Linked DNA regions of Homo sapiens: all the other regions are linked to region 5. The links are contacts of gene promoters, found by promoter capture Hi-C in blood cells and fetal thymus (Javierre and others, 2016). All regions are on one chromosome and are shown on one strand. Each heading gives the region's core, a stretch centred on a gene start or on the middle of the fragment in contact. The rest is flanking DNA. Distances are from core to core; before and after follow the strand shown.

Region 1 (3,525 bases), core at 851-3,350, 330 kb after region 5:
ATTGTCTCTGTTCAGTTAATTTATCAAAGGGAAGCAGCTCCACCTAGAATTACAAATCAAGACTATCAGGTAACATGAGTAAAAGATGCCCAGGAAAGATTTGGGGTCAAGTTCTTAGTTCTTTATATCAAGAGCCTTGTGCAGGGGGTGAATGGTAAAAAAAAAACAGTACAGACTTTGCCTTAAGGAGTTTGGACTATGGTTAGTAAACCAGATAAAACAATTGAGGACTGTGAACAATGAGGTGTTCTTTGAGGGAGAGATTCACTGGGTAGTAGAATGGTCAGGAAAAGCCTTTAAAAAAGGACAGGACCTAAGCTGGCTTTTGAGGGTTAGTACAGAAGAGGAAGGATAGCATCTCAAGGAATTGACTGTTCTTGGGACGTCTGAAGAAATAGTGAGTAGACCAGTCCATCTGGTTGTTTGGACACAAAGAAAGGGTGGGAGATAATATGAGAAGCTTGTTTGGGGTCAGATTGTATGTGATACTTTTGAAGGTCTGTCTGAGGAACTTGGACTTTATCATACAGACAGCCCATTAAAAGCGGAGGTTATGGGTTGTTGTGGTGGTGGTTTTAATTTTAGTTTGGAGTAATGTTTAATGTGCAGTATGGATTTAGAAGCTCAAGAGAGTTAGTGGTGAAGAAAAATGATTAGTTTATTTCAAAAATGGTAGCTCTACTTTTTTTTTTTTTTTTTTTGAGATGGAGTTTTGCTCTTGTTGCCCAAGCTGGAGTGCAATGTTACGGTCTCGGCTCACTGCAACCTCTGCCTCCTGGGTTCAAGCAATTCTCCTGCTTCAGACTCCCGAGTAGCTGGGATTACAGGTGCGCACCACCACGCCCAGCTAATTTTTTGTATTTTTATTTATTTTTATTTTTATTTCTGTTTTGAGATGGAGTCTCGCTCTGTTGCCCAGGCTGGAGTGCAGCGGCACAATCTCGGCTCACTGCAACCTCCACCCCCTGGGTTCAAGCGATTCTCCTGCCTCAGCCTCCTGAGTAGCTGGGGTTACAGGTGCATGCCACCACGCCCGGCTAATTTTTGTATTTTTAGTAGAGACGGGGTTTCACCATGTTGGTTAGGCTGGTCTTAAACTCCTGACTTCGTGATCTGCCCGCCTCAGCCTCCCAAAGTGCTGGTATTACAGGCGTGAGCCACTGCGCCTGGCAATTTTTTGTATTTTTAGTAGAAACGGGGTTTCACCATGTTAGCCAGGCTGGTCTTGAACTCCTGACCTCAGGTGATCTGCCCACCTCTGCCTCCCAAAGTGCTGGGATTACAGGCATGAGTCACCAATCCCAGTCGATAGCTCTACCTTTTATAGTGACAATGCAGGTTATCTTGTGTGGAGGTTCCTATCAATCAGCCTGTACAGGTAGCACCAGTGTATAACAATCTCTTGGCCAGTCAGCACTGGTGCTTCGTGCTGCTTTCCTAAATTTTTTTTTTTTCTCTTGAGACGGAGTCTTGCTCTGTTGCCCAGGCTGGAGTGCAGTGGTGCGATCTTGGCTCACTGCAACCGCCACCTCCCAGGTTCAAGTGATTCTCTTGCTTCAGCCTCCTGAGTGGGATTACAGGTATGCACCACCATGCCCAGCTAATTTTTGTATTTTTAGTACAGATGGGGTTTCACCATGTTGGCCAGGCTGGTCTCGAACTGGTTAACCTCAGGTGATCCACTGGCTTGGCCTTCCAAAGTACTGAGATTACAGGTGTGAGCCACCACGCCTGGCCTGCTTTCCTAAATTTGAATTGGTTGCAAATCTGTTTTGTTTGCTCCATCATTGTCTGTCATTAACATACTATTTATTTATTTTCAAAAGTATAAACTTATATGGAATTTCTGTAGGGGTTAAAGTAGACACTAGGTTACCAAGGCATAATTTCCCAAGACTTGGAGACCTGTGATCACTGGGAGGATTTTTGGATCTTCATCTGAACTTAGCTATATTAAACATTGAAACAATCCTACAAAATGCCTAGATGAGACAGGTTTACAGGTAAGTTTTATCAGACCTTCATGGAACAGATAAACCATAGAAGAATTAAACTGTTTTAGAGAAGAGATAAAGTGGGAAAGCTGCTATCTCAGGTTTTGAGGTTAGTATAATCTTGGTACAAAACAGGGAAGGTCAGTATATTATAAGAAAATGAAAGGCTAATCTTCTAAAAATGGATTTGAAACATCTAAACAGTACTAGCAAATTGAATGTATTATTGTATTAAAAAACAAAACATCAAGACCAAATAGTTTGTTTAAATTATTATATGCAAGGATGGTTTCATATCAGAAAATACATCACTGATATCATCCAACATATTAATTTTTAAAAGGGGAAGTTCTTCTTATTTTCTTAATAGGTTCAGAAGAAAACATTATATGAACTTTAATATTTAGTCTGATTAAATTTTTTTCACAAAGCTAGAAATAAAAAACTTTCTTAACCTAAAGTTAACCAAAACTTCCTTTGGTAGACATCACACTTAACAGTAAAACTACAGACCTGTTCCCTCTCAAGTTAAGAACAGTACATGGTGCCCACTATCAGCCTTAATATTTACTAATCAACTGAACTTCCTGGTTAATTCCAGAAGACAAGAAAGAGAGGACCAAGCTGTCTATATTTGAAGACTATGTAGACATCCATAGAAAATTCAAGAGAATCCGCCAGGCGCGGTGGCTCACGCCTGTAATCTCAGCACTTTGGAAGGCTGAGGTGGGCAGATCACCTGAGGTCAGGAGTTCAAGACCAGCCTGACCAACATGGAGAAACCCCATCTCTACTAAAAATACAAAATTAGCCGGGCATTGTGTTGCATGCCTGTAATCCCAGCTACTTGGGAGGCTGAAGCAGGAGAATCGCTTGAACCCGGGAGGCGAGGTTGCAGTGAGCCAAGATCGTGCCATTGCACTCCAGCCTGGGCAACAAGCGCGAAACACCATCTTAAAAAAAAAAAAAAATTCAAGAGAATCCACAAATTATTAGAACTAATAATAATAGTTCTGCAAAGTTGCTGAGTTTCAGATCAGCAACCTTTTGATTCAACCATACAAAATTATAATTTATGTAGGTCAAAATGGTCGTTAAATATTTATTTGCAGTTTCATATGATTAAACCTAATACAGAAATCAATCACATTCCTGTCTACCAGCAATAATCATTTAGTAAATGTATACTTTTTTAAAGATTCTATTCATAGTAGCCACAAAAAAACTATAAAGTATCCAGGAAATATCTAAACAAGAAATATATATCTTGGGGAGAAAACATAATCAAAAGACCTGGATAAACAGAGAGATAGCATGTTCATGGATGGGAGGACTTCATATAATAAAGAGGTAATTTTCCCTAAATAAGTTTATAAATTCAATAAATGCCAATCAAAATTTCAAATGATTAAGGGTGAGGCTAGGAGGAAAAAATCCAGATGTATTGACAACCTAAGTGTAAACTTCAAACTTTTAGAAGAAACTGTTGGCAAGTACCTTTATTACCTTGGCATAAGAAAGGATTTCATAA
Region 2 (3,648 bases), core at 933-3,432, 300 kb after region 5:
CCTGGTGAGTGAAATTATTAGTCTGAAGATTAGTAGTTGGGGAACTCATTCATCTCGACTGGTAGATTAAGATCCTATTTTGGGTTAGAATAAATTACCTTGGGATAGAATGAAATCGCAGGTGATTTATCATATTAGTTGGAAGTATGTTCAGGGAAATCTTAGTTGAACTGTAGTTTATGCTGCTGCTTTTTTTTTTTTTTTTTTTTGAGACAGAGTCTCGCTCTGTCGCACAGCCCGGAGTACAGTGGTGGGATCTTGGCTCACTGCAACCTCCGCCTCCTGGGTTCAAGAGATTCTCCTGCCTCAGCCTCCTGGGTAGCTGGGACTACAGGCGCACACCACCACACCCAGGTATTTTTTGTATTTTTAGTAGAGGTGGGGTTTCACCATGTTGGCCAGGCTGGTCTCGAACTCCTGACCTCAGGTGATCCACCTGCCTCAGCCTCCCAAAGTGCTGGGATTACGGGCATGAGCCACCCCTCCTGGCCTACCCTGCTTCTTTTTTTTTTTTTTTTTTTTTTTCGAGACAGAGTCTCGCTGTTGTTGCCCAGGCTGGAGTGCAATGGCGCAATCTTGGCTCACCTCAACCTCCGCCTCCCGGGTTCAAGCAATTCTCCTGCCTCAGCCTCCCAAGTAGCTGAGATTACAGGCATGCACCACCTTGCCTGGCTAATTTTGTATTTTTTTTAGTAGAGACGGGCTTTCTCCATGTTGGTCAGGCTGGTCTTGAACTCCCAACCTCAGGTGATCTGCCCGCCTTGGCCTCCCAGAGTGCTGGGATTACAGGCGTGAGCCACTGTGCCTGGCCTACCCTGCTTCTTAGTAAGACTCTTAGTGTTTGCCTTGGTACCTTGAGATGGCCTTACCTATCCAGGTTCTTTGTACTTATTTCTCATCTTCTATATGAGATTGTAAACTCTGAGGTCAGAGATCTTACATTGGACAAATGTTTTAGTGCTTATCTTTTTGTGTGTGTGGTAAAAAAACATAAAATTTAACATCTTAAACCCTTCATTTTCAAGAGTACAGTTCACTAGTATTTAGTATATTTGCATTGCTGTGAAACAGTTCTAAAGTTTTTCATTTTGCAACAGTTTTCATTTTGCAAATCTGAAACTCTATACGCATTAAAAAACTCTCCATCCTCTTCCCCAGTCCCTGGCAACCACCATTCTACTTTGTCTCTATGAATTTGACTTCTTTAGATACCTCATATAAATGGAATCATACAGTATTTGTCTTTTTCCGATGGGCATATTTCATTTTGCCTAAAGTCCACAAGGCTCATTTATGTTGTAGCATGTGTCAAAATTCTCCCCCCCAGCTCTTTTTTTTTGAGATGGAGTTTCGCTCTTGTTGCCCAGGCTGGAGTGCAATGGCGCCATCTCGGCTCATTGCAACCTCCACCTGCTGGGTTCAAGCGATTCTCCTGCCTTAGCCTCCTGAGTAACAGGGATTACAGGCGCAGGCCACCATGCCCAGCTAATTTTTGTATTTTTAGTAGAGATGGGGTTTCTCCATGTTAGGCTGGTTTCGAACTCCTGACCTCAGGTGATCCATCCGCCTAGGCCTCTCAAAGTGCTGGGATTACAGGTGTGAGCCACTGTGCCTGGCCAGAATTCTTTCATTTTTAAGGCTGAATAATATTCCATCTCATGTGTATACCACATTTTGTTTATCCGTTTATCCATTGATGGACATTTTGGTTGCCTCCACTTCTTGGCTGTTATGAATAGTGCTGCTATGAACATTGGTGTTAAATATCTCAAGGTCTCTTGAAATTTCATATGAGTTTTAGAATTAATTTTTGTATTTCAGAAAATTGCTGCTGGGATTTTGATAGGGCTTGCATCGAATCTGTATATTGCTTTTGGTAGGATTAACATTTTAACAATACCAAGTCTTCCAATCCAGGAACATGGATATCTTTCCATTTATTTGTGTCTTTAATTTCTTTCCACAATGTTTTATAGTCTTCATCGTCCAAGTCTTTCACTTGCTCAGTTTTATTCCTAAGTGTATTTTATGCTGTTATTAATGAGATTTTAAAAAATTTCCTTTTGAATTGTTCATTGTTAGTGTATATAAATACAGCAGATTTTTGCATATTGATTTTGAATCCTGCAGCTTTGCTGAATTTGTCTATTCTAACAATTTTTTTGCAAACTCGTTAGGATTTTCTTTTTCTTTCTTTTCTGAGATGGAGTTTCACTCTCGTTGCCCAGGCTGGAGTGCAGGGGCACAATCTCAGCTCACTGCAACCTCCGCCTCCTGGGTTCAAGTAATTCTCCTGCCTCAGCCTCCCAAGTAGCTTGGATTACAGGCATGTACCACCACACCCAACTAATTTTGTATTTTTAGTAGAGATGGGGTTTTACCATGTTGGTCAGGCTAGTCTCGAACTCCTGACTTCAGGTGATCCGCCCTCCTCGTCCACCCAAAGTGCTGGGATTACAGCACAGGTGTGAGCCACCGTGCCCGGCCCAGGATTTTCTATATATTAGATCATGTTATCTGAGAACAGATAAATTTACTTCTTTTCTTTCTTTTTTTTTTTTTTTTTTTTTTTTGAGACGAGTCTCGCTCTGTCTCCCAGGCTGGAGTGCAGTGGCGCGATCTCAGCTCACTGCAGCCTCTGCTTCCCAGGTTCAAGCAGTTGTCTGCCTCAGCCTCCCGAGTGGCTGGGATTACAGGTGCCCGCCGCAATGCCTGGCTAATTTTTTTGTATTTTTAGTAGAGATGGGGTTTCACCATCTTGGCCAGGCTGGTCTTGAACTCCTGATCTCGTGATCCATCTGCCTTGGCCTCCCAAAGTGCTGGGATTACAGGTGTGAGCCACCTTGCCCAGCCCAGGTAAATTTACTTCTTTTCCAATTTGCCTAATTGCACTGACTAGAACTTTCAACATTATGTTGAATAGAAGTAGTGAGAGTGTGCATGCTTGGCTTGTTCCTTGTCTTAGAGAAAAGGCTTTTATTCTTTCACCACTGAGTATGATATTATCTGTGAGGGTTTCATACATGGTCTTTATGATTTTGAGGCAGTTTCCTTCTATTTATACTTTGTTTGATGTTTTGTCATAAAAGGGTGTTTTGTTGAATCTTGTCCAGTGCCTTTTTTGCATCAATTGAGATGGTCATCTTTTTGTCCTTATTCTGTTAAAGTGATGTGTTACATTGATTGATATTCATATGTTGAATCATACATGCATTCCAGAAATGAGTCCTACTTATTGATAATATGTAATTCTTTTAACATGCTACTGAATTTTCCAGTATTTTGTTGAGGGTTTTTACCTCAATACTCACAAAGAATATTCATCTGTAGTTATCTTTTCTTGATGTCTGTGTCTGGTTTAGTGTCAGGGTAATGCTGGCATCATAGAATGAGCTTGGAAGTGTTCCCTCCTCCTCAGTTTTTGGAAGAGTTTGAGAAAACTTGGCATTCATTATTTTTTAATGTTTGGTAGAATTCTCTAGTGAAGCCATCTGGTCCTGGGCTTTTCTTTGTTGGCAGTTTTTTGGTTACTGATTTAATCTCCTTACTCATTGGTTTTTTTCAGCTTTTCTATTTCTTCATGATTCAGTCTTGGTAAGTTGTGTGTTTCTAAGAATTTATCCATGGCCAGGCGCGGTGGCTTACGCC
Region 3 (3,492 bases), core at 852-3,351, 280 kb after region 5:
ACAACTTCCCTACTAAAACATTCCTGTTCTGAAAGTGTTTTCTGACCTCCCTTGACCCAAGAGCTTCACCCCCACCTAATCCCAGCTCTGCTCCATTATACTAACTCTTTTCTTCTTTTTCTTTCCCTCTCCTCCTCATTCTTCTCCCCATTCCTTTCAGCGATATAAAACCAAATTCTTCCCTGTCTAATGCAGAGCAATTTCCCTTTCTTGACAACCGTTCTAGGATCTTGACAGCCAGCCATTCTGCAGCAAACCACCTACTCCAAGGGGACTGGACATGAGTGATGGGAGCCCATATTATGGGAACATATTTTCTTTTTTTTTTTTTTTGAGGTGGAGTCTCTCTCTGTCGCCCAGGCTGAAGTGCAGTGGCGCGATCTTGGCTCACTGCAAGCTCCGTCTCCCGGGTTCACGCCATTCTCCTGCCTCAGCCTCCTGAGTAGCTGGGACTACAGGCGCCTGCCACCACACCCTGCTATTTTTTTTTTTTTTTGTATTTTTAGTAGAGATGGGGTTTCACCATGTTAGCCTGGATTGTCTCGATCTCCTGACCTCATGATCCGCCCGTCTCGGCCTCCCAAAGTGCTGGGATTACAGATGTGAGCCACCGTGCCTGGCCGGGAACATATTTTCTTCTTTCTTTCTTTTTATATATATATATGTACTCCAATTTAAAACTTTTAATTAAAAAGTAAACTTTAATGTCGAAAATGCAAACTTGGGGAGGACAGAAAGATAACACACAAGGCTGTCACTTCATACTTGGATGGTTGCACAGCAGTCGCGCAGAGGCACTCCTCACTTCCCAGACGGGGCGGCGGCCAGGCAGAGGGGCTCCTTACTTCCCAGATGGGGCGGCGGACGCCCGGCCGGGAACATATTTTCTTAAAGTTTCTTCGAAGAGGAACTCTGTGTTAGCTGTTAGGATGACACAATAGAGAATTTTCTTTCCTCTTACAGTGGTGGCCCAGCTTGCCGATCTCAAGCTTAATACTGAGTCCTACTTCCTGATAATGTGTCAGAAACCTTAAACATGCTTATACATATAATTTGTCAAAATCATAAACTCTAGATGTCTTTGGCTAATATATTGTCCTTGTGTACAGAATATATACCGCTTTTAAAGAAGCATGCCGCTTACATATAGGTCATAAACCCACTTAGCACAAAAGAGTCACCACCTCATGCCATCTTGTTATATATTTTGCTTACGCAAAAATAATTTTAGCTTTTGATATTCGAGTATTTTTGTTACCATGAATTTGTGTGTTTTTTCCTGAGTTTCAGATTGTATGCAAATATAATGTGTAATTTTTAAGACCTAAAACAAATGCAGAAGTGCTTTTTTTCAGGAAGTAAACCTTTAATACTTCCATTTGTAGATCAGTCTACCCATAAGTGACTGACTCTTTGGTTACTCTTAGCTGAAAAGAAAGATCACAGTTTTTTTTTTACTCTTACATCAGTTTTAAGGACTTGTAGGGAGTTTAATGCATTGTAATTTACTGGTCCTTTTTTGAATTTGTATTACAATTAATGAAATTGCTTTTTTCTTGCCATGTATTAGCCCAATCTTACAGATTGTTTCCCACTTGTAGGTAATAGAGAAGAGGAAACCTAACCAATGACTGTGGAATAATATGGAAGAAGATGGAAAAAACTTGTTTAATGGGTAAGAAATAAAAACTGTAATAAAACATTATTAATGAAAGCTATTTATAATAATAGTATTATGTGTGGCTGAGGTTGGCATACTATGAGGGTAATTGATCAGTTACTGTTTTGTCTAACTCCATTCTGAACTTTCACCGCTTGCTTTCATCTTAACCTTGTGAATTTTTTAGTACCACGAATTAACTTAAGCTAAGAGGGGACACAGCCATATTTGAAGTTAAAATGGGACCTAAAGACCAGCAACCATACTGAAACAAGTCTAGGGTAGGTCTTGAAACTTGGTGGTAAGATAGAGATCGTATCTGTCATGACCTGTCAAGAGTAATTATCTACCCCTTCTTTTTCTCCAAATATGTCAGTTGCTATGATGTTTGTCCCACCACGAGGATCCCGTTCATTTGAGCAAGTGCAGATGTGTGTCTGGTGGTAATCAAATAGAATTCTGCTTTGGGAGGTTGAGGTGGGAGGATGGCTTGAGGCCCGGAATTCTTTTATTTATTTATTTAGTTTTGAGATGGAGTCTTGCTCTGTTGCCCAGGCTGGAGTGCAGTGGTGTGATCGTGGCTCACTGCAACCTCTGCCTCCCGGGTGCAAGCAATTCTCTTGCCTCAGCCTCCCAACTAGCTGGAACTACAGGCACCCGCCACGACACCTGGCTAATTTTTGTATTTTTGTAGAAACGGGGTTTCATTATGTTGGCCAGGCTGGTCTCAAACTCCTGACCTCAAGTGATCTGCCCACCTTGTGCTGGGATATGCCTCCCAAAGTGCTGGGATTACAGGCGTGAGCCACTGTGCCTGGCTGAGACCAGGAATTCTAGCCAGCCTGGGCAATATAGCAAGACCTCATCTCTACCAAAAAAAAAAAAAAAAATTAGCCAGGTGTGGTGGCTAGCTACTCGGGAGGCTAAGGTGACAGGATTGCTTGAGCCCAGGAGATTGAGGCTGTAGTGAGCTATAATCATTCCACTGCACTCCAGCCTGGGCAACAGAGCAAGACCTTCTTAAAAAATAGAATTCTACAGAAAGCTCAGTAAAAGGTTTGACTTTAAGTTTATGAGATATAAAAGTTTTTTTAATTATGCAAGTTTATACATTCATGTCAATAATTTAAAAATAACAGATAACTACAATCCTCTACCTGAATCTTACCCTCCTCCCAGAGTCTATAAGTATATGGCATGTATTTGTGCAACCTTCTTTGCCTAGTGGTTAAAAACATGGATTTGGAGCCAGACCGTTTTTAACCAGTCACTATTAACTTGACATTTGGACATGTTATCTCTGTGCCTCAATTCCTTGGATATAAGGTGAGGACAATAAAATGCTATCTCTTAGCAATTGATTAGTTAATCCATATAAAAAACTTGAAATAATGTCTGGAATGAAGTAAGTGTTTAGTAAATGTTAACTATAATTCTCATATGTATCCCAGTTAGCCTTTTTATGTGCCAGCCATCCACACATAAATTTTTCTCTGATACATTCCAAGAGTTAAACCATCTCAGATACGGTTAACCATGGTGGCAAAAGCTTTTTAGTTTTTTTCATGAGAAGTTTTCTTTTGACTTCATCTCTGAGTATGCTGCTAGACTATGTGTGAGGATAAAGTTCTATATCTTTACCTTTTACTGTATATCTTAGGGTGTATATGATGTTTATAGTTATATATGAATAAACAACTATCTTCAGCCTAACATAGGTTCATCTTGCCTGTAAAAGTATCTTGTAAAGCAGGCTACACAATTCTTTTGTTTCTAGATAGCTATGTCAAATGCTGTGTTGTGTTTCTGTCAATCTATTTTGAAGGACATGC
Region 4 (3,262 bases), core at 736-3,235, 390 kb before region 5:
AGTACGGCACCCACTGTCAGAATCTGCAGGAACAGAATTCCCAGGCTCCCAAGCTGAGTCAGTTAAACAAACTTACCGTAGACAAGTGATAAATGTGTTCATTTTTTAAAACTATTGAAAGGGCAGTAGTGTACTTAAAAATTGATACCCAGTCATTTTTTTTTTTTTTTTTTTTTTTTTTTGAGACAGAGTCTCGCTCTGTCGCCCAGGCTGGAGTGCAGTGGCACAATCTTGGCTCACTGCAAGCTCTGCTTCCCAGGTTCACGCCATTCTCCTGCCTCAGCCTCCCGAGTAGCTGGGACTACAGGCGCCCGCCACCACACCTGGCTAATTTTTTGTATATTTTTTTAGTAGAGATGGGGTTTCACCGTGTTAGCCAGGTTTGTCTCGATCTCCTGACCTTGTGATCCACCTGCCTCAGCCTCCCAAAGTGCTGGGATTACAGGCGCGAGCCACCGCACCTGGCCCAGTCATTTAGGATTTTTACTCACCAATTTTTGTTGGCATTTGTTTCCATCAATTGCTTTTGCCAATGGCTAATAGTTGTACTCTTCCATAGTTGAGTTTACACACCTATATGGTCTGCAAATAACTGAGTGTTAATTAGCATTAATTGAGTGTGGCTATTCTCTACACACATTCCAGTCTGCTCCTTTTGGGTTCAGTCTGTCCACAAGTGCTACATGAGGAGTCTCTTAGAGTTGTAGCTTGTGCTGCTCCCTATTGGAGGGAATAACCCCATGCTTATTGAGGGCTGATCCTTGACTAGGAGGCGCCATTACAAAAAGAAACAGGATCAGGCTGGGCACAATGGCTCATGCCTGTAATCCTAGCACTTTGGGAAGCTGAGGCAGGTGGATCACTTGAGGTCAGGAGTTCAAGACCAGCCTGGCCAACATGGTGAAACCACGTCTCTATGGAAAATACACACACGCACAAAAATTAGATGTGTGGGGTGGTGCGTACCTGTAATCCCAGCTACTCGGGAGGCTGAGGCAGGAGAATAGCTTGAGCCCAGGAGATGGAGATTGCAGTGAGCTGAGATCATGCCACTGCACTCCAGCCTGGGTGACAGAGCAAGACTTCGTCTCAAAACAAACAAACAAAAAACTGCTCTGATCTGGAAAAAATAAATTCAATCAAAGATCTCTTAACTGATGTAGTAAATTTGTGTTTATGGTCATATTCAGTACTTCCCCGGCCTCCCTCCTCTTCCCCTTTATGATTTGATTCCCGGATAGTTTGTTCATAATTTATCTACCATTTAGTTAAAAAGAGTTTTCATTTTTACTTTCATCTTTCTGGTGAATTGTGAAATTATAAGTTCCTGTCCCAGTTTACTTAGTGGATTTTCATCAGATTGGTCACCATCATCATGTAGAACCTAAAAGGTAGAGGGAAATTTCATTTTAGACTCATATGTTTACTTGTTAGTTTAGACTCATTTGTTTACTTGTTAGTTTTCCCTTGTTTTCCCACTCTTTGTCCCAATCCTTCACTTGTATTTATCAAAGCAAAGTTCAAAATTCCTTATTTGTATTTATCAGATCCCTTCATAGGTAGCATCACCAGATGTACTTGGGGTTTTGGCAATTTATTGATGGGACTCTTACCTGTCCCCATTATTGTTACTCACTCTTTGGTCTGTCACCATGGAGTTATATGTTGGAAGCAATTAGGAGAGTAAATGGCTTGTGATAGAACAGTAGGCTTCCTCATGCATGTTCCTGAGTCAGTGAAAATCCTCAGCTATAAAGTGAGGAGTCAATGCCTCCACCCTCCTTTACTTGCTGCTTAGGAGATGGGCAAGTAGGAAGGGCCATTTTATATTCAGATTATAAACCCATTCTTGACAAATCAGATGCTAAGAAATCAGGAATGCTGTTTTTCTGTACATCTCCTTAGTGGTGGCTTTTACCGAATTCAGCATTAATTGTGACAACATAGTTTTGGCTCTGATGAGAGGGCAGCAGTGAAATATAACCTACCTTTAGGCCGGTGCCTCCAGGCACAGAAAAGGGTAGGGAAAGGATAAGCTCACAGGGCTGCTGTGAGTAGCACGTGCGTGGACTGCTAAATACGTTGGGTCCTCCCCCAGGCCAAGGCAGCATCCACTCCTCCACGGTCTCTCTGGTCATGTGACCACTTGTCTGCCTCTCTCATCTTATCAGAACATCTACAGCTTTGTTCCACGGGATTCTTCACTAGGGATCTGATGGCATCCACGTGAGGAACCAGGAGCTTAATTTTGTCCGCCAGTCAATGGAATCCACAGCCGGCAGCCAAGCCAGTGGCCTAAACATAAATCACTGCCTGCGAATTTGAATACAGGAAAGTCTTGTTTGCTCTCTAGAGCCCAGCTTCAAGTCATCGGTACTGCCTTTGGTTCTGCCCACTGGGAAGAAGCCCCTCATTCTCCTCTCCAAGTATCCCCCCCAGGCAGGGTATAAGGGGACCGCCACCGCTGGAGGTTTTAGAAGTGAGGGAGGCAAAGCCACCCACAAAACCGGCGGCAGCTCAGAGTCCACCGTGCTTCTCCGGCACCGATGCCGGGAGCCTGCAGGGGGCGCCCTTGCCCAGGCTGGCCTCCGCAGTGCCGGAGGAGGGACCAACCTCCGTGGGGCTGAGCTTTTCGATCTCTGGAGTTCCTCTTCAGCACTGGAGCTAGCTTTTGTTTGAACGTGACCGATTCCTGTTATACAGCTTGGGACCCCGAAGTACTTGATGTCCCTTGTCTTAGCTTCCATAAGCAGCTGGTAACTGACATTCAAAGGGAGCATCCTCAGGACTAGAAGCCACAGGCTAAGTCCTTCCCCTCCCTCAGGAATTCCCAGAAGGCTCCGGTCATCAGCAGTTAAGGAGACACACTTCATATTCTGATTGGTGATATGGACCCAGAGGAAGGGCAGCAGGCACTGTGGTCTGCAAGGCTTCGGAGGCAGTGGCTGGTTCGGACCGCATGCAAATTCTGATGCCCTTCTAATAATCTAATACCCAGATGTGGATCCAAGATGCCCATTAATATCTATGCCTGCTTTTTAGTGGTAGGGGGCTTGAAAAACAAAAGCCTCTATCTGGTCCAGGGTGAATTCCTCTAGCGGGCAGAGGCAGAGCCAAACTGCATCTTGGAGGGCGCCTGAATTTTCTCATGATTGATGGCACATCCCTTTCAGTCAAAAAAATCAAGGGAAGACAGAGCTTCAAGCACAGTTGTTTCTGAATTACCCCTAATTAATTTGTCATCGTTGTACAGAATAACTTC
Region 5 (3,749 bases), core at 596-3,095:
AGAAAAAAGAAATATCCCTTCATAACCCCCATCCCCACAGGCGGACCCCACAAAGGCCTTTCAGATGCACAGTACACATGTATTAATATGTACATATATACTAATATGCGTTTGTCCCTTATGCCGGGGTTTAGAGTGAGGAAGTGCATGACTCAAGAGTGGGGCTTTCTGAGTAGGGCAAGAAGATCTCATCTGTGATATTACTACAGGTTTTCTAGGAAGGCACCCTGTCCTCTCAAATCCTCCAGGGCCATAGGCACATGGCCTTGCCCAGTGAGAAATTCCACCTGTAGCCTCCTCACTCTGGGGGAAGGCCTTGTGCCTTATTGAAATGCAAATAGCACTTGGGTGTGAAGGCTGGTGAGGGCCCCCAGGGGCACGTGGTGCTGTCCAATGTGCCTTGGCTTTGGTGTTTGAAGGTCTGAGCTCTGGGCCTGACCCTGTTCTTACAGGTCAGGCGACCTTGGGCAAGTGGCTGAGCCTCTTTGAGCTTCAGGGGCCTCATCTGCAAAATGGGGATAATAAGGCTATCTAATTCACCAGCTTGTGGTGGGGTGCCATGAGTGCTGGGAACGGTAAAGGCACAGTGCAAATAGTCATTACTCTCAGCCTCTCGGGCAGTTACACCGTGGTTTCACACACATACCTGTCTGAACCTATAGGAGAGCACGTTTCCCTTTGGGGGAGCACAGGGGCTTTGAAGGGAGTGGTTAGGGAAGCCGGGGGTAGGCCTCAGCTTCCTCATGTGACTGGGTAGCATGAGAGCCTGGAGCCAGCTACCCCAGTTCAAATTCCAGTTCCCTGCAGGGCCCGGTGGCTCACACCTGTAATTCAGCGGGAGGTTGAAGTGGGAGGATTGCTTGAGCTCAAAAGTTCAAGACCAGCCTGGGCAACATTGAGAGACCTCATCTCTATTTTATAAAAAAGTAAAAAAAAAAAAAAAAGAAAAAAAAATGGCTGAGCACAGTGGCTCACGCCTGTAATCCCAGCACTTTGGGAGGCCGAGGCAGGAGAATCACTTGAGGTCAGGAGTTCGGGACCAGCCTGGTCAACATGGTGAAACCCCGTCTCTACTAAAAATACAAAAAAATTAGCCGGGCGTGGTGGCAGGTGCCTGTAATCCCAGCCACTTGGGAGGCTGAGGTGGGGGAATCATTTGAACACAGGAGGCGGAGGTTGCACTTAGCTGAGATTGTGCCACTGCACTCCAGCCTGGGCAACAAAGCGAGTCTCAAAAAAAAAATAAATAGAATTCCAGCCCTCTCACTCACTAGCTGCCTGATCCTTAGGCAAATTATAATCTCTGTACCTCAATTTTCCGAAGTATAATGTGGGAATAACAAGAGCTCTACCTCATAGGGTTCATGTGAGGACTTAATGAGCTAGTCCATGTAAGGTGCCTAGACCTCTTAAGCACTCAAACTTTAGCTACAATTATTATTTATCTCAAGTTTGCCTTGGAGATGGTGTAACACGAACCAAACAGTCCAGGACACACTTTACAGCAGTGAAGGGGCAGAGGAAGCAAGATGGAGGGTGTCCTGTTCCCTCTCTCCATCTCCCCAGAGAGATCGCAGAGGTCCGACAGCTGGGGAGTACAAGGCAGGCAGCAGCACCAGCACCAGCACCCAACTAAGCCTTTTGTAAGAGGACCTACCTCCCAGCCGCACATGTGAGGCTGGCTGGGGCTTTCATGCTCTTTCCTGCCCATCAGGCTTCTTGTGACCCCGAGCTGACCTTCCCCAGCCCTGTGATTTCATCACACCTTGCACATCCTGGACCAGGGCCTTTCTTGATGGTGAGGTGGAACTTCTGGTGGTCAGGGAGGACTCTTGGCAGGATACTGAGAGTGCCAAGGTGGGGAGAACTTGTATGGGGCAGGGGGCATTGTGACACCTCTTTACAACACAATTCCTTCTGTCTTCCCAAGGAGACATGAGGCCAGGGCTGGGGACTGACGTTTCAGGACCTGGAAGGGTCTTTTAACCTTGACACTGGCCCACTATGCTATTCCCTCTTCCCACAAACCCATAGAACCCTAAAACTGTGGGCAGGAGGTGAATGGAGAGAGATCATCCTAATTATCAAGGTGCCTCCAGAAGTCCTAATATCCCCCCATGTCCCAATATCACTGTCAGGAAGGAAATGTACCTTGGCAACTCTTCATTCTATCTATCTATCTAATCTATCTATTTATTTATCTATCTATTTATCTATCTATCTATCATCTATCATCTACCACCTGTCAATCATCTATTTATCATCTATCTATCATCTATCTGCCTTCCAAATTACAGAGATGAGTGGATGAATGGATGGGTGGACATGAGTGGGAGGGTGGATGGACAGGTGGATGGACTGGGTTGGCAGATAGATGGTGGATGGGCCAACCCTTGTGATTTGAGCCCTGCTCATCTCCTTAGCCTCATCTCTTGCTATCTTTCCCTTGCTCTCTATGGAGTAGCTAGTTTCTTAGACATGCCCCACTCTCTCCCCTCTGAGCCTCTACATATGCCATTCCTTCTCATGGATTGCTTTGAACAGAGGGTTGGGAGATAAAGGGATGGATGAACAGGTGGATAGACAGATGGCTGAATAGGAGTGACCATGTGTGAGTGGATGGATGGATGGTCAGTAAATGGACAGATGGTGATGGCTGTGGTATAGAGGATTGCAGGTCTGGGAGTTAGAATGCCTGAGCTTGAATTCTGGCTGTACTACTTTACTAGTGTGTAACTTTGGGAAAATTAATTGACATCTCTATGCTTCTGTTTTCTCATCTGTAAAATGGGTAAAGTCCCTACCTAATAGAGTTGGGCAAAGCACTTAGGACAGTGCCTGGTACAGAGTAAGCATTGAGTAAACATCAGCTATGACTATGTGTGGGTGGGTAATTGGATTGATGGGTGGGTGGTTGAATGGGCTGTCCTGTCCCCATCTTCAAAAATCAGCTCCCCTACCTCCCTAGGGTCCTGTCTCCCCAATACCACACTTGGTAGGCAGCTTCCAGGAGTAATGTCAGAAATCCCACATGTAGGAATGACATGGGCTTCTCCCTTGGTTGAGGGGAAGGAGAGAGTTCCAGCGGGAGGTAGATAGAGCTATTGGGTGCCTTCCTGCCACACCAGCTTGGGCTGGGCCCGGAATTATTTGTTTTCTTCCTGGCCCTGAGTCAACGCTGACAAGATGCACTTTGGGGCCGAAGGCAGACTGGAAATTGGGGTGTTGATGACTTGTGTGCTGTCCCTAGATCTCACACCCTGATGGTAATGACCCCTAATTTCTAAGGAGGCTGGGAGGCACCAGGAGAGAAAGAGAAGGAGCAGCGGAGCATTAACTGGGCTTCCCCTGCCACAGCCTCTGACCGGCAATCTCCAAGCGCTCTGGGGAGGGTGGAGTCTTGTTTGGAAGGGAGGCTGGGGACATGGCATTCTGGACAGAGTGCCCAGCATCTCTGCATCTGGGGGAAAATGGCCTGAAGGAGCTATCAGGAGGGAGCCCAGGTGTCTGGGTGTGGGTTTGGGGGAGCCACGGCTTAGCACACATTGTACTTTGTCTCAGCCAAAGTGGGGTGAGGTGCTGGGCTGATAACCAGGAGAACTGGGTGACCTGAGACAAGTCCTGTCCCCTCTCCAGGCTCAGTGTCTTATGTGTATCATGAGGACATTGTGTCCCTCCACCTTGGATACTTGATGTCCAAGGTGGGGAGAACTTGTGTGGGGCAGGAGGCATTGACATCTGGTGGTAGG
Region 6 (3,483 bases), core at 574-3,073, 360 kb after region 5:
AACATCCATGCTAGTATAAAAATAGTTAGGAATGCCCTTGGCAGAACTGAAGCTCTTATTAAATGGTGGACAGAGCTCTTGCCAGCTTTGATCCAGCCCCTCAGTCTCGGAGTTATGGGGCAGGGTTGGGGGGCAGTGCTACACTGTAAAGAATTTCCAGGCTGGGCGCGGTGGCTCATGCCTGTAATCCCAGCACTTTGGGAGGCCGAGGAGGGCGGATCACAAGGTCAAGAGATTGAGATCATCCTGGCCAACATGGTGAAACTCCGTCTCTACTAAAAATACAAAAATTAGCTGGGCATGGTGGCACGTGCCTGTAGTCCCAGCTACTTGGGAGGCTGAGGCAGGAGAATCGCTGGAACCCAGGAGGCAGAAGGGGCAGTGAGCCGAGATCGTGCCACTGCACTCCAGCCTGGCGACAGAGCGAGACTCTGTCTTAAAAAAAAAACAAAAACAAAAACAAAAAAAAAAAAAGAATTTCCAGATGTCTCTTAAAATGTCATGAATAAAATTGGAAACTGTAGAAGTGTTAATGTGTCCTATGGACTCAATAGCAGAGTTTATTTTTGTTTTTAATGGCAAGGCTTCTAGAGTCAATGATTGTATGAGTTTGCTACTCTGGCTGTGCTTACAGCTTCATCCAAGTACAAGGGAAGAACCAATGAGGTGGATTGGCTGACAGTGGGGCATGCCCCAGCATAAGCCCTAGAGAGGTCGACAGTAGTGCAGAATGAAAACTTGGTCGGGGATGGCGGGTGGTGGGTGGGAGGAGGGTGGGCTGGCCGGGAGGGAGAAATGGAGTTTGTTCTACTTACTGATAAAGCTTTGTGAACTAATTTTATACAATTCATAAAATTTGGTGCCTTGTACTCAATTACGGTTTGCATGGAATTGAAAAGATTAAGGGAAAGGATTTCTTCTTGTCATTTCAAGTGGCAAATGGGTCTGTGTAGTGTTTAAAGGACATCTGGTATCACAGACTTTTAAAAAGCATTTCATGTCTCTTGTGTGTGAATGCAAATTATTCTTACCAGCAAGTTCTGAAATTATGTTACAATGTCCAAATTCTTTGTATTTGTGACTGTTCATCAAATGGCTGCTTTTCAAGGCAGACTGTGTACTCCATTGTTTTTCACTTCCCTTGTCATGTTCCATACATTGACTTGGGCCTTTTTAAATCAGGCTGGGGGGCTACCCCTTCTTAAATGAATACTATATCCCTATCTGAGGTTACCTCTTGTGAGTGGAAGGGTTGCTTTCCCAGGTGGTTGGGAGAGCACAAATGTTGAGAAAAGGCCTTTTAGTCTTTATCAAAACAATGACTAATGCTGGGCAACATATAGCAGAAGTCAAACAAAAATGATTCCTCCTGAAATGGTACCTTCATTGGTTCTGATGTTCTTTTGCAAAAAATGTCCGGAAGCAGTATAGAAAACCCCCTGTATGTGAACCTTAGATTGTAAGGCAAGCCAGTGCACTGTGTAATATGCAAAGGGAGTGGTGCAAAAGAGAAGGCACCCGTCCCAGCTCTCCATGCCCTTTCCCTGGCAGGCGCTGACTGAGATGGCGCTGAGTGAATGTGGAAGGTGCTAAGACCCAGTCTCTTCACTGCAGGGCTGTTTACAGCCAGTTTCTTTTACTCTGACCTTAAGGTTTCCACTGAGCTCATGAAACTTCAACATATGGTGTTTAAAAGTTTCCCACTCAAATGCACACTTGAAAATTGGGTCCCTCAGCCTCATTACTGAACTAAATAAGTGAAGAAGTTGTATCTTTGGGGTAAAACTTTCCAGGGCCACTTAATTTTTTAACCAGTTAAGTACGCATCTTCCTGGTGGTTCAGACTTTTTAAGTCAGTGCTAAAGCTGAAAAGCGCCTTCTAAATATGACTGTGAGTTTAGTTTGTATCTTACATTTAGTAACTGTTCTGTTGGGCCAGGACTATGACTTTAATTACTATGTACTTATTCATCCCACACTCTGCACTAAATACACCATAGCTACTATAGCATTGTGGCAGGCACTCATTTTTGTGGACTCATTCCATACTTCTGCTGGCATATTTCGTTTAAAATCTAGCTAAAGATTTTCATAGTACTGTGTTAACTAGCCAGGGCTGAAAAGTGTGACAGGATATCAAATTGACTTTCCTTGGGGAAAATGTTGCTTTGGCAATAGTGAAGTCCAACTCCTTCATTTACAGAATTAGTGATTACTCATCAATTTTTGAAAGTTGTAGATTAAGTAGTTTTATTTACTAAATTCTTAACCACTTTGAAGATTTAAGCCAGTTGAAATGAAACATTGGCTGGATGCAGTTGGCTAGCACCTGTAATCCCAACACTTTGGGAGGCCAAGGTGGGAGGATTGCTTGAGGCCAGGAGCTCAAGACCAGCCTGGGAAACATAGATTTGAAATCTTTTCAAAAATGTATAAAAATTTAATAAATAAATAAATGAATCCTTACTCAACCATAATTATGGCTTTAAAACCCAACCAACAGTAAACACTTACTTGAAGCCAAAACAGTAAATTTTGAATGAAATTTGAATTATGCTTTTGGAAGCTGCCATGTCTTAATTCTTGCTGGATTTTGATTTTCAATTTTGGAAGTTTTTATCAAAACTGTCCAGTCATGAGTATATCAGGTAGCAGCCTTTAAGGATCTAAGTTTCATTCCTATAAAGAACAGGAGGTGCTGGTATTTCTTGTCTTAGCAAGTGATCTGATGCAGGTCTAAATGGGGGTTAGCATCTATACTATGGCTTAAAAGTTTCCTCCTTGGTCACCATTTGGGAGGTGATGGCTTCAAAGCTAAGCTTTGCTCTCATGTGACCCTTCTTTATCTTAATACCCAATAAGATATAAACCTCTCAGAGTCAACCCAGTGTAGACTCAAAGGGTCTTAGCTTCATCTATCAGATAAGATCTATCTGATTTATACAAAGAATGGTGCTGTTTTTATATACATACTAAAAAAATCTAATTCTCAAACAATTTTCTTAATATTTATGCCAGCAAGGTCAGGAAAGACTATTTTGTCCTGTTTAACTTTAGTAGTGAACAAACTGCTAGAGACATCTGTCATCCTTAACAGGCCACTGTGGTCCTTATATACTGACCCTCCTTTCCAATTAACGTCCTTTAATCCCATACTAGTTCCATAAGAGACTTGGCACATAAAAGCAGTATTTTTTTTAATGCCTAGTAAACTGGCCAGAAAAAAATATTGCCATGGTGGACCTGTTTCTATCCACCTCTTTCTATGGCTATATAAGTCTATACATGCCAGTTCCGTACATACTCCATTTCCAAAGAGCCCCCAAACCCTGGACAGTAGCACTACCATGAATTTTAGGGTCACAAAACATTTCCTTCTGAAGGAAGCAGCTGCCTCAGCAGTGTCACTTTAGTGACCACTGCCCAGGCTTACTTCACTTTGCCTCCCCCTACACATCACTGCCCTCTTTCTGCCACCAAACC
Region 7 (3,657 bases), core at 355-2,854, 410 kb after region 5:
AAATTCTCCACAATAACAGTCAGTTTGAGAATAGGTGGGCTCAACAGAGAAGACTTTGTGGCATTCGTGCTGGGTCTTGAAGGATGAGGAGATTTTACAGGTGACTATGCTCGGGAAGGGTATTTCACATGGAGGGCATAGCATGGATAAAGGCATGGAGGTGAGGAAATAAGAGGCCTCCTGGGGAGAAAGGAAAGTGTAGGTTAGTTGTAGAAGATGATTTTGGAAACGTAGGAAATGGAGAATGTCCTGAATGCCAAGATAACAAGTTTGAGTTTTATTTAGTTAGCAGTGGGCTTCTGATGAGTTTTGATGCAAGTGATGCTTAAAGGAAATGAGACTAGAAGGCGATAAGAAAAAGCCTGGGCACCACCACCATGAGGGGACCTGAGGACCCAGAATTTGACAAAATCTCCTGGGGGTGTAGGCTAGCAATCAGAGCCCTGGGATAACGGGGTGTGGGAGCTATAACTAAGCCCCAGCAAGACAATCTCCTGAGCTCTATCTATTGTTCAGAGATTTCCTGAGCTCTGAGCCAGGCACAGGGATGCAAAAGCCATGGGCTCTGCTCTCTGGGAGCTTCTAGTCATGTGGGTTTTTTCAGATATGGGGGGCAGCAGACAGGGCAGACCACAGGCAGGAGAGGACTTGGGATCTGACCGAGCTGTCAGAAGATCAATTGAGTAGGCAGGGGCTGTAGGCCCCAGGGTCTGGCAGCCAAGCTGGGATGCCCTAGCTTGATGCAGTCGATCAGGGACTCTCGGAAGGGATTTGTTGTGACTTCTTGGGTGTTTGCGGAAGGTTAGCCTGGCAGCAGCCAGACTCCTGGAGTCCTACCAGATAAGAAAAGGGTCCCTGAAGCTTTTGTTGGGGAATCTGGAGGCCTCACATGACTTAGGGGATCCCATGAATTCTGCTATATTAAAGGATTTGGCAAGATTCCAATGACCTGGGCCAGGCGCGTGGCTCATGCCTGTAATCCCAACACTTTGGGAGGCTGAGGCTGGCGGATAACGAGGTCAAGAGATTGAGACCATCCTGGCCAATATGGTGAAAACCTGTCTCTACTACAAATATAAGAAAATTAGCTGGGCGTGGTGGCACGCACCTGTAGTTCCAGCTACTTGCGAGGCTGAGGCAGGAGAATTGCTTGAACCCGGGAGGTGGAGGTTGCATTGAGTCAAGATCGCGCCACTGCACTCCAGCCTGGTGACACAGCAAGACTCCATCTCAAAAAAAAAAAAAAGATTCCAATGATCCTATAATTTTATTTACCTGCTTCCCAAATATGGGGACTCCCCTCAACCCAGGGAAGGCACTCCCTATCTTGTCTTTCACCTCATAGTCCAATGTACCTCTGGGGACCACAGGGAGGAATGGAAGCTAAGTTGGCTTGAGACACCATCAGGTAGGGACCTCCCTCTCTGTGCCAGGCCCAGCTGACTTCTAGTCCTCCCTCCCCTCCCCCATTATAAGGCTTGGGGAAGCTCCAGGGCTCTGGCTGGGCAGTGGGTAGCAGTGGCTAGAGTGGAAAATCCCCCACCAGCTGGATGATATCAGTGTTTACAGATCTGGTCCTGGCCTTCTGCCTGGGGCCTGAGGACCTGACAAATCTGCCTGGAGCCCTGAGTGTGGGGTACGAGGTCGCAGAGAGGCTATTGGCACGGGGATTTTTTTCCCACTCACTCCAAAATGGAGAGCTGTCCTGGGCCAGGTGAGCAGGCACTGGGCCAGCTCCAGGTCACCTCAGGCAATGGGAAGCTGGTAGCTGGGAAGTGGGGTGGGAGTTGGGGGAGGTGGGGGAGGGGGTGCCGAGATGAGGGATAGAGGAACTAACAAATCAGACTTGGGGGCTGCACAAGGGCTTGGGAGTGGGTCATGGGAGACATAGGCACTTTAGGAGAACTGAAGACAGAAGCAGGGACGCAGCGGGGCAGAAGAGAGAACGAGGAACAGCAGCAGGGCGCAGGCCTGTCCCTCTTCATATGCCCCTGCTCCAGGCCTCTGATCTAGGTCGGTACAAGAGGCACAACCAGAAGCTGGTGTGGCTTACTCTGTGAGTGTGTCCTGAGCATTTGCTGAATTATGACAAGCATTTCTCCAAATGTCCTGTTTGACCTTGAAAGCCTCTGAAGCTGCTCAAATAGCTGTGACTTCAGCCATTGTCATCCCAGCCCCACCACCAGCACCAGAACTCCCGACACTGCCATCAGCACCACCCTCACCATCACCATCATTGTAACCAGCATCCTAGCTACTAGCTACTGACCTCTTGACCCCCTGACACCCCTATCTCCTCCCCTGAGGGTTTGAGGGTGCTAGGAGTTAGGAGTGGAGTCAAAGCTTCAAGTACATAACCTAGAGACAAGCAGTTCTCAATGATTTTGCCCATCCAGAAGACACTTAGCAGTGCCTGGAGATATATTTGGTTGGCACAATGGGTGGACTGCTCCTGGCATCGAGTCGGTAGATGCCAGGAATGCTGTTAAACATTCTATAGTACACAGGATGGGGCCCACAACAAAGAACTATTTGTTCCAAAATGTCGACAGCACTGAGGTTGCGAAACCCTGGCTATAGATCCTATCTATCCCAGCACTCTGCCTCTACCTTTTTCTGGCCCTCGTCCCTAAATGCACACATTATGCCTCTGGTTTGGGAACAAGACGTAATCTTCACCACTCCATCTTACGGCAACTTTCTCTCTTATCGCTTGCACCTCCTGGCCTCCGATGCTTGAACCAAAAAGTCAATAAGATGAAAGTCTGTTGCGGCCACCCTCAAGAAGGAAAAATACACAGAAACGATACACGAAGCACAGGGTACACCCTGGGTTGAGGTCATGGCTGCCCAGGGCAGGGAGGCAGCGATTAGACTAATCTTGGGCGTATAAAAGAGGAAAGAGTGCCCAGGTCTTCACTCCACTGCGACTGCAGAACTCAGAGCTGCTCTTCCTCTGTGGCCAGTTGGGGACCAGCATCATGAAGTGGATGGTGGTGGTCTTGGTCTGCCTCCAGCTCTTGGAGGCAGCAGTGGTCAAGTGAGTCTGGGATCTGGCTGCTGGTGCAGGGAGCCTGGATGGGAGCCTAAAGCCCTGCAAAGGGCAACTGGGCCAGGGGACACCCTGCCTGTCTCTACTCTGGGACTTCTGCTAGGGGAAGGGAAGTCTCCCTTTGCTGATGTTAGACAGGACACATGGGTGGAAGGAGACACAGCCCCTGCCTTCAGGAAACTTCCTATCAAAGGGAAAAGCACGATCCCTTCCCCCATCTGATGAGGAAAGATGGACCTGAAACAGAGGTGGTAAGGGTGACTACTGCCCAAGCAGCCCTTGAATGGCAGGTGTGGATTCTTCTCACAGAAGGGAGCAATCCTTTTTGGATAAGGGATATCTTATCCACTATCCTCTCTAAAAGTTGCTTTAAGGCTGAAAATTTACTGGCAGATGCCAAAATCATCTAAGCAGAAACACCAGTAAATGTAAATCTCTACACCTGAGGGGTCAGGAGAAAACTCTGGAGTAGATGGCATGGCTCACAGGCCATCAGGAAGGCGCCCAGCCTGCCATCCTGCCTGTTATTTCTCTACCCAAGAGTACTTCCTGAGGCCAAGAGCTGGCTCCTCTCAGAAACTCCTATCAATATGCATATTTGGTAG

What was found. Contacts are between HindIII fragments. The CHiCAGO score rates a contact against its expected background, and 5 or more counts as called.
Region 1: a fragment that was not itself captured here is called in contact with the fragment with the promoter of CIMIP3 in region 5 in 8 of 17 cell types (activated CD4 T cells, non-activated CD4 T cells, total CD8 T cells and 5 more); the score reaches 7.3 in activated CD4 T cells.
Region 2: a contact is called between a fragment that was not itself captured here and the fragment with the promoter of CIMIP3 in region 5, in 7 of 17 cell types (total CD4 T cells, non-activated CD4 T cells, naive CD4 T cells and 4 more). The highest score is 12.0, in total CD4 T cells.
Region 3: a contact is called between a fragment that was not itself captured here and the fragment with the promoter of CIMIP3 in region 5, in 4 of 17 cell types (megakaryocytes, naive CD8 T cells, non-activated CD4 T cells and 1 more). The highest score is 6.5, in megakaryocytes.
Region 4: a contact is called between a fragment that was not itself captured here and the fragment with the promoter of CIMIP3 in region 5, in 2 of 17 cell types (endothelial precursors and megakaryocytes). The highest score is 6.0, in endothelial precursors.
Region 6: a fragment that was not itself captured here is called in contact with the fragment with the promoter of CIMIP3 in region 5 in 9 of 17 cell types (total CD8 T cells, naive CD4 T cells, non-activated CD4 T cells and 6 more); the score reaches 9.8 in total CD8 T cells.
Region 7: a contact is called between a fragment that was not itself captured here and the fragment with the promoter of CIMIP3 in region 5, in 1 of 17 cell types (naive CD4 T cells). The highest score is 5.1, in naive CD4 T cells.

Annotation. Positions count from the first base shown.
Region 1 is chr6:41,828,757-41,832,281 of GRCh38, reverse strand. The region is part of intron 3 of USP49 (ubiquitin specific peptidase 49); the gene reads left to right. Among named protein-coding and RNA genes, the nearest start is that of TOMM6, 43 kb to the right of the region's middle. The HindIII fragment of the contact is 3,275 bases long and covers 463-3,525 here.
Region 2 is chr6:41,850,878-41,854,525 of GRCh38, reverse strand. All of the region lies in intron 3 of USP49 (ubiquitin specific peptidase 49), which reads left to right. Among named protein-coding and RNA genes, the nearest start is that of USP49, 43 kb to the left of the region's middle. The HindIII fragment of the contact is 8,920 bases long and covers 1-3,648 here.
Region 3 is chr6:41,869,747-41,873,238 of GRCh38, reverse strand. USP49 (ubiquitin specific peptidase 49) reads left to right here. Exons shown (of 8, transcript NM_001286554.2): 3 at 1,602-1,675. Among named protein-coding and RNA genes, the nearest start is that of USP49, 24 kb to the left of the region's middle. The HindIII fragment of the contact is 2,220 bases long and covers 992-3,211 here.
Region 4 is chr6:42,547,066-42,550,327 of GRCh38, reverse strand. It overlaps LOC124901317 (a long non-coding RNA gene), which reads right to left. Exons shown (of 2, transcript XR_007059578.1): 1 at 1,989-3,262; 2 at 1,156-1,384. Among named protein-coding and RNA genes, the nearest start is that of UBR2, 15 kb to the left of the region's middle. RefSeq lists an enhancer at 2,256-2,435. The HindIII fragment of the contact is 6,264 bases long and covers 1-3,262 here.
Region 5 is chr6:42,153,502-42,157,250 of GRCh38, reverse strand. CIMIP3 (ciliary microtubule inner protein 3) reads right to left here and starts at 1,845. Exons shown (of 2, transcript NM_001384994.1): 1 at 1,766-1,845. The coding sequence starts at 1,774. It overlaps GUCA1ANB-GUCA1A (GUCA1ANB-GUCA1A readthrough), which reads right to left and starts at 1,845. Exons shown (of 5, transcript NM_001319062.2): 1 at 1,658-1,845. The HindIII fragment of the contact is 11,083 bases long and covers 1-3,749 here.
Region 6 is chr6:41,790,235-41,793,717 of GRCh38, reverse strand. It overlaps USP49 (ubiquitin specific peptidase 49), which reads left to right. Exons shown (of 8, transcript NM_001286554.2): 8 at 1-3,483. Among named protein-coding and RNA genes, the nearest start is that of TOMM6, 4.3 kb to the right of the region's middle. The HindIII fragment of the contact is 1,996 bases long and covers 826-2,821 here.
Region 7 is chr6:41,746,659-41,750,315 of GRCh38, reverse strand. PGC (progastricsin) reads left to right here and starts at 2,919. Exons shown (of 9, transcript NM_002630.4): 1 at 2,919-3,040. The coding sequence starts at 2,982. The HindIII fragment of the contact is 1,482 bases long and covers 864-2,345 here.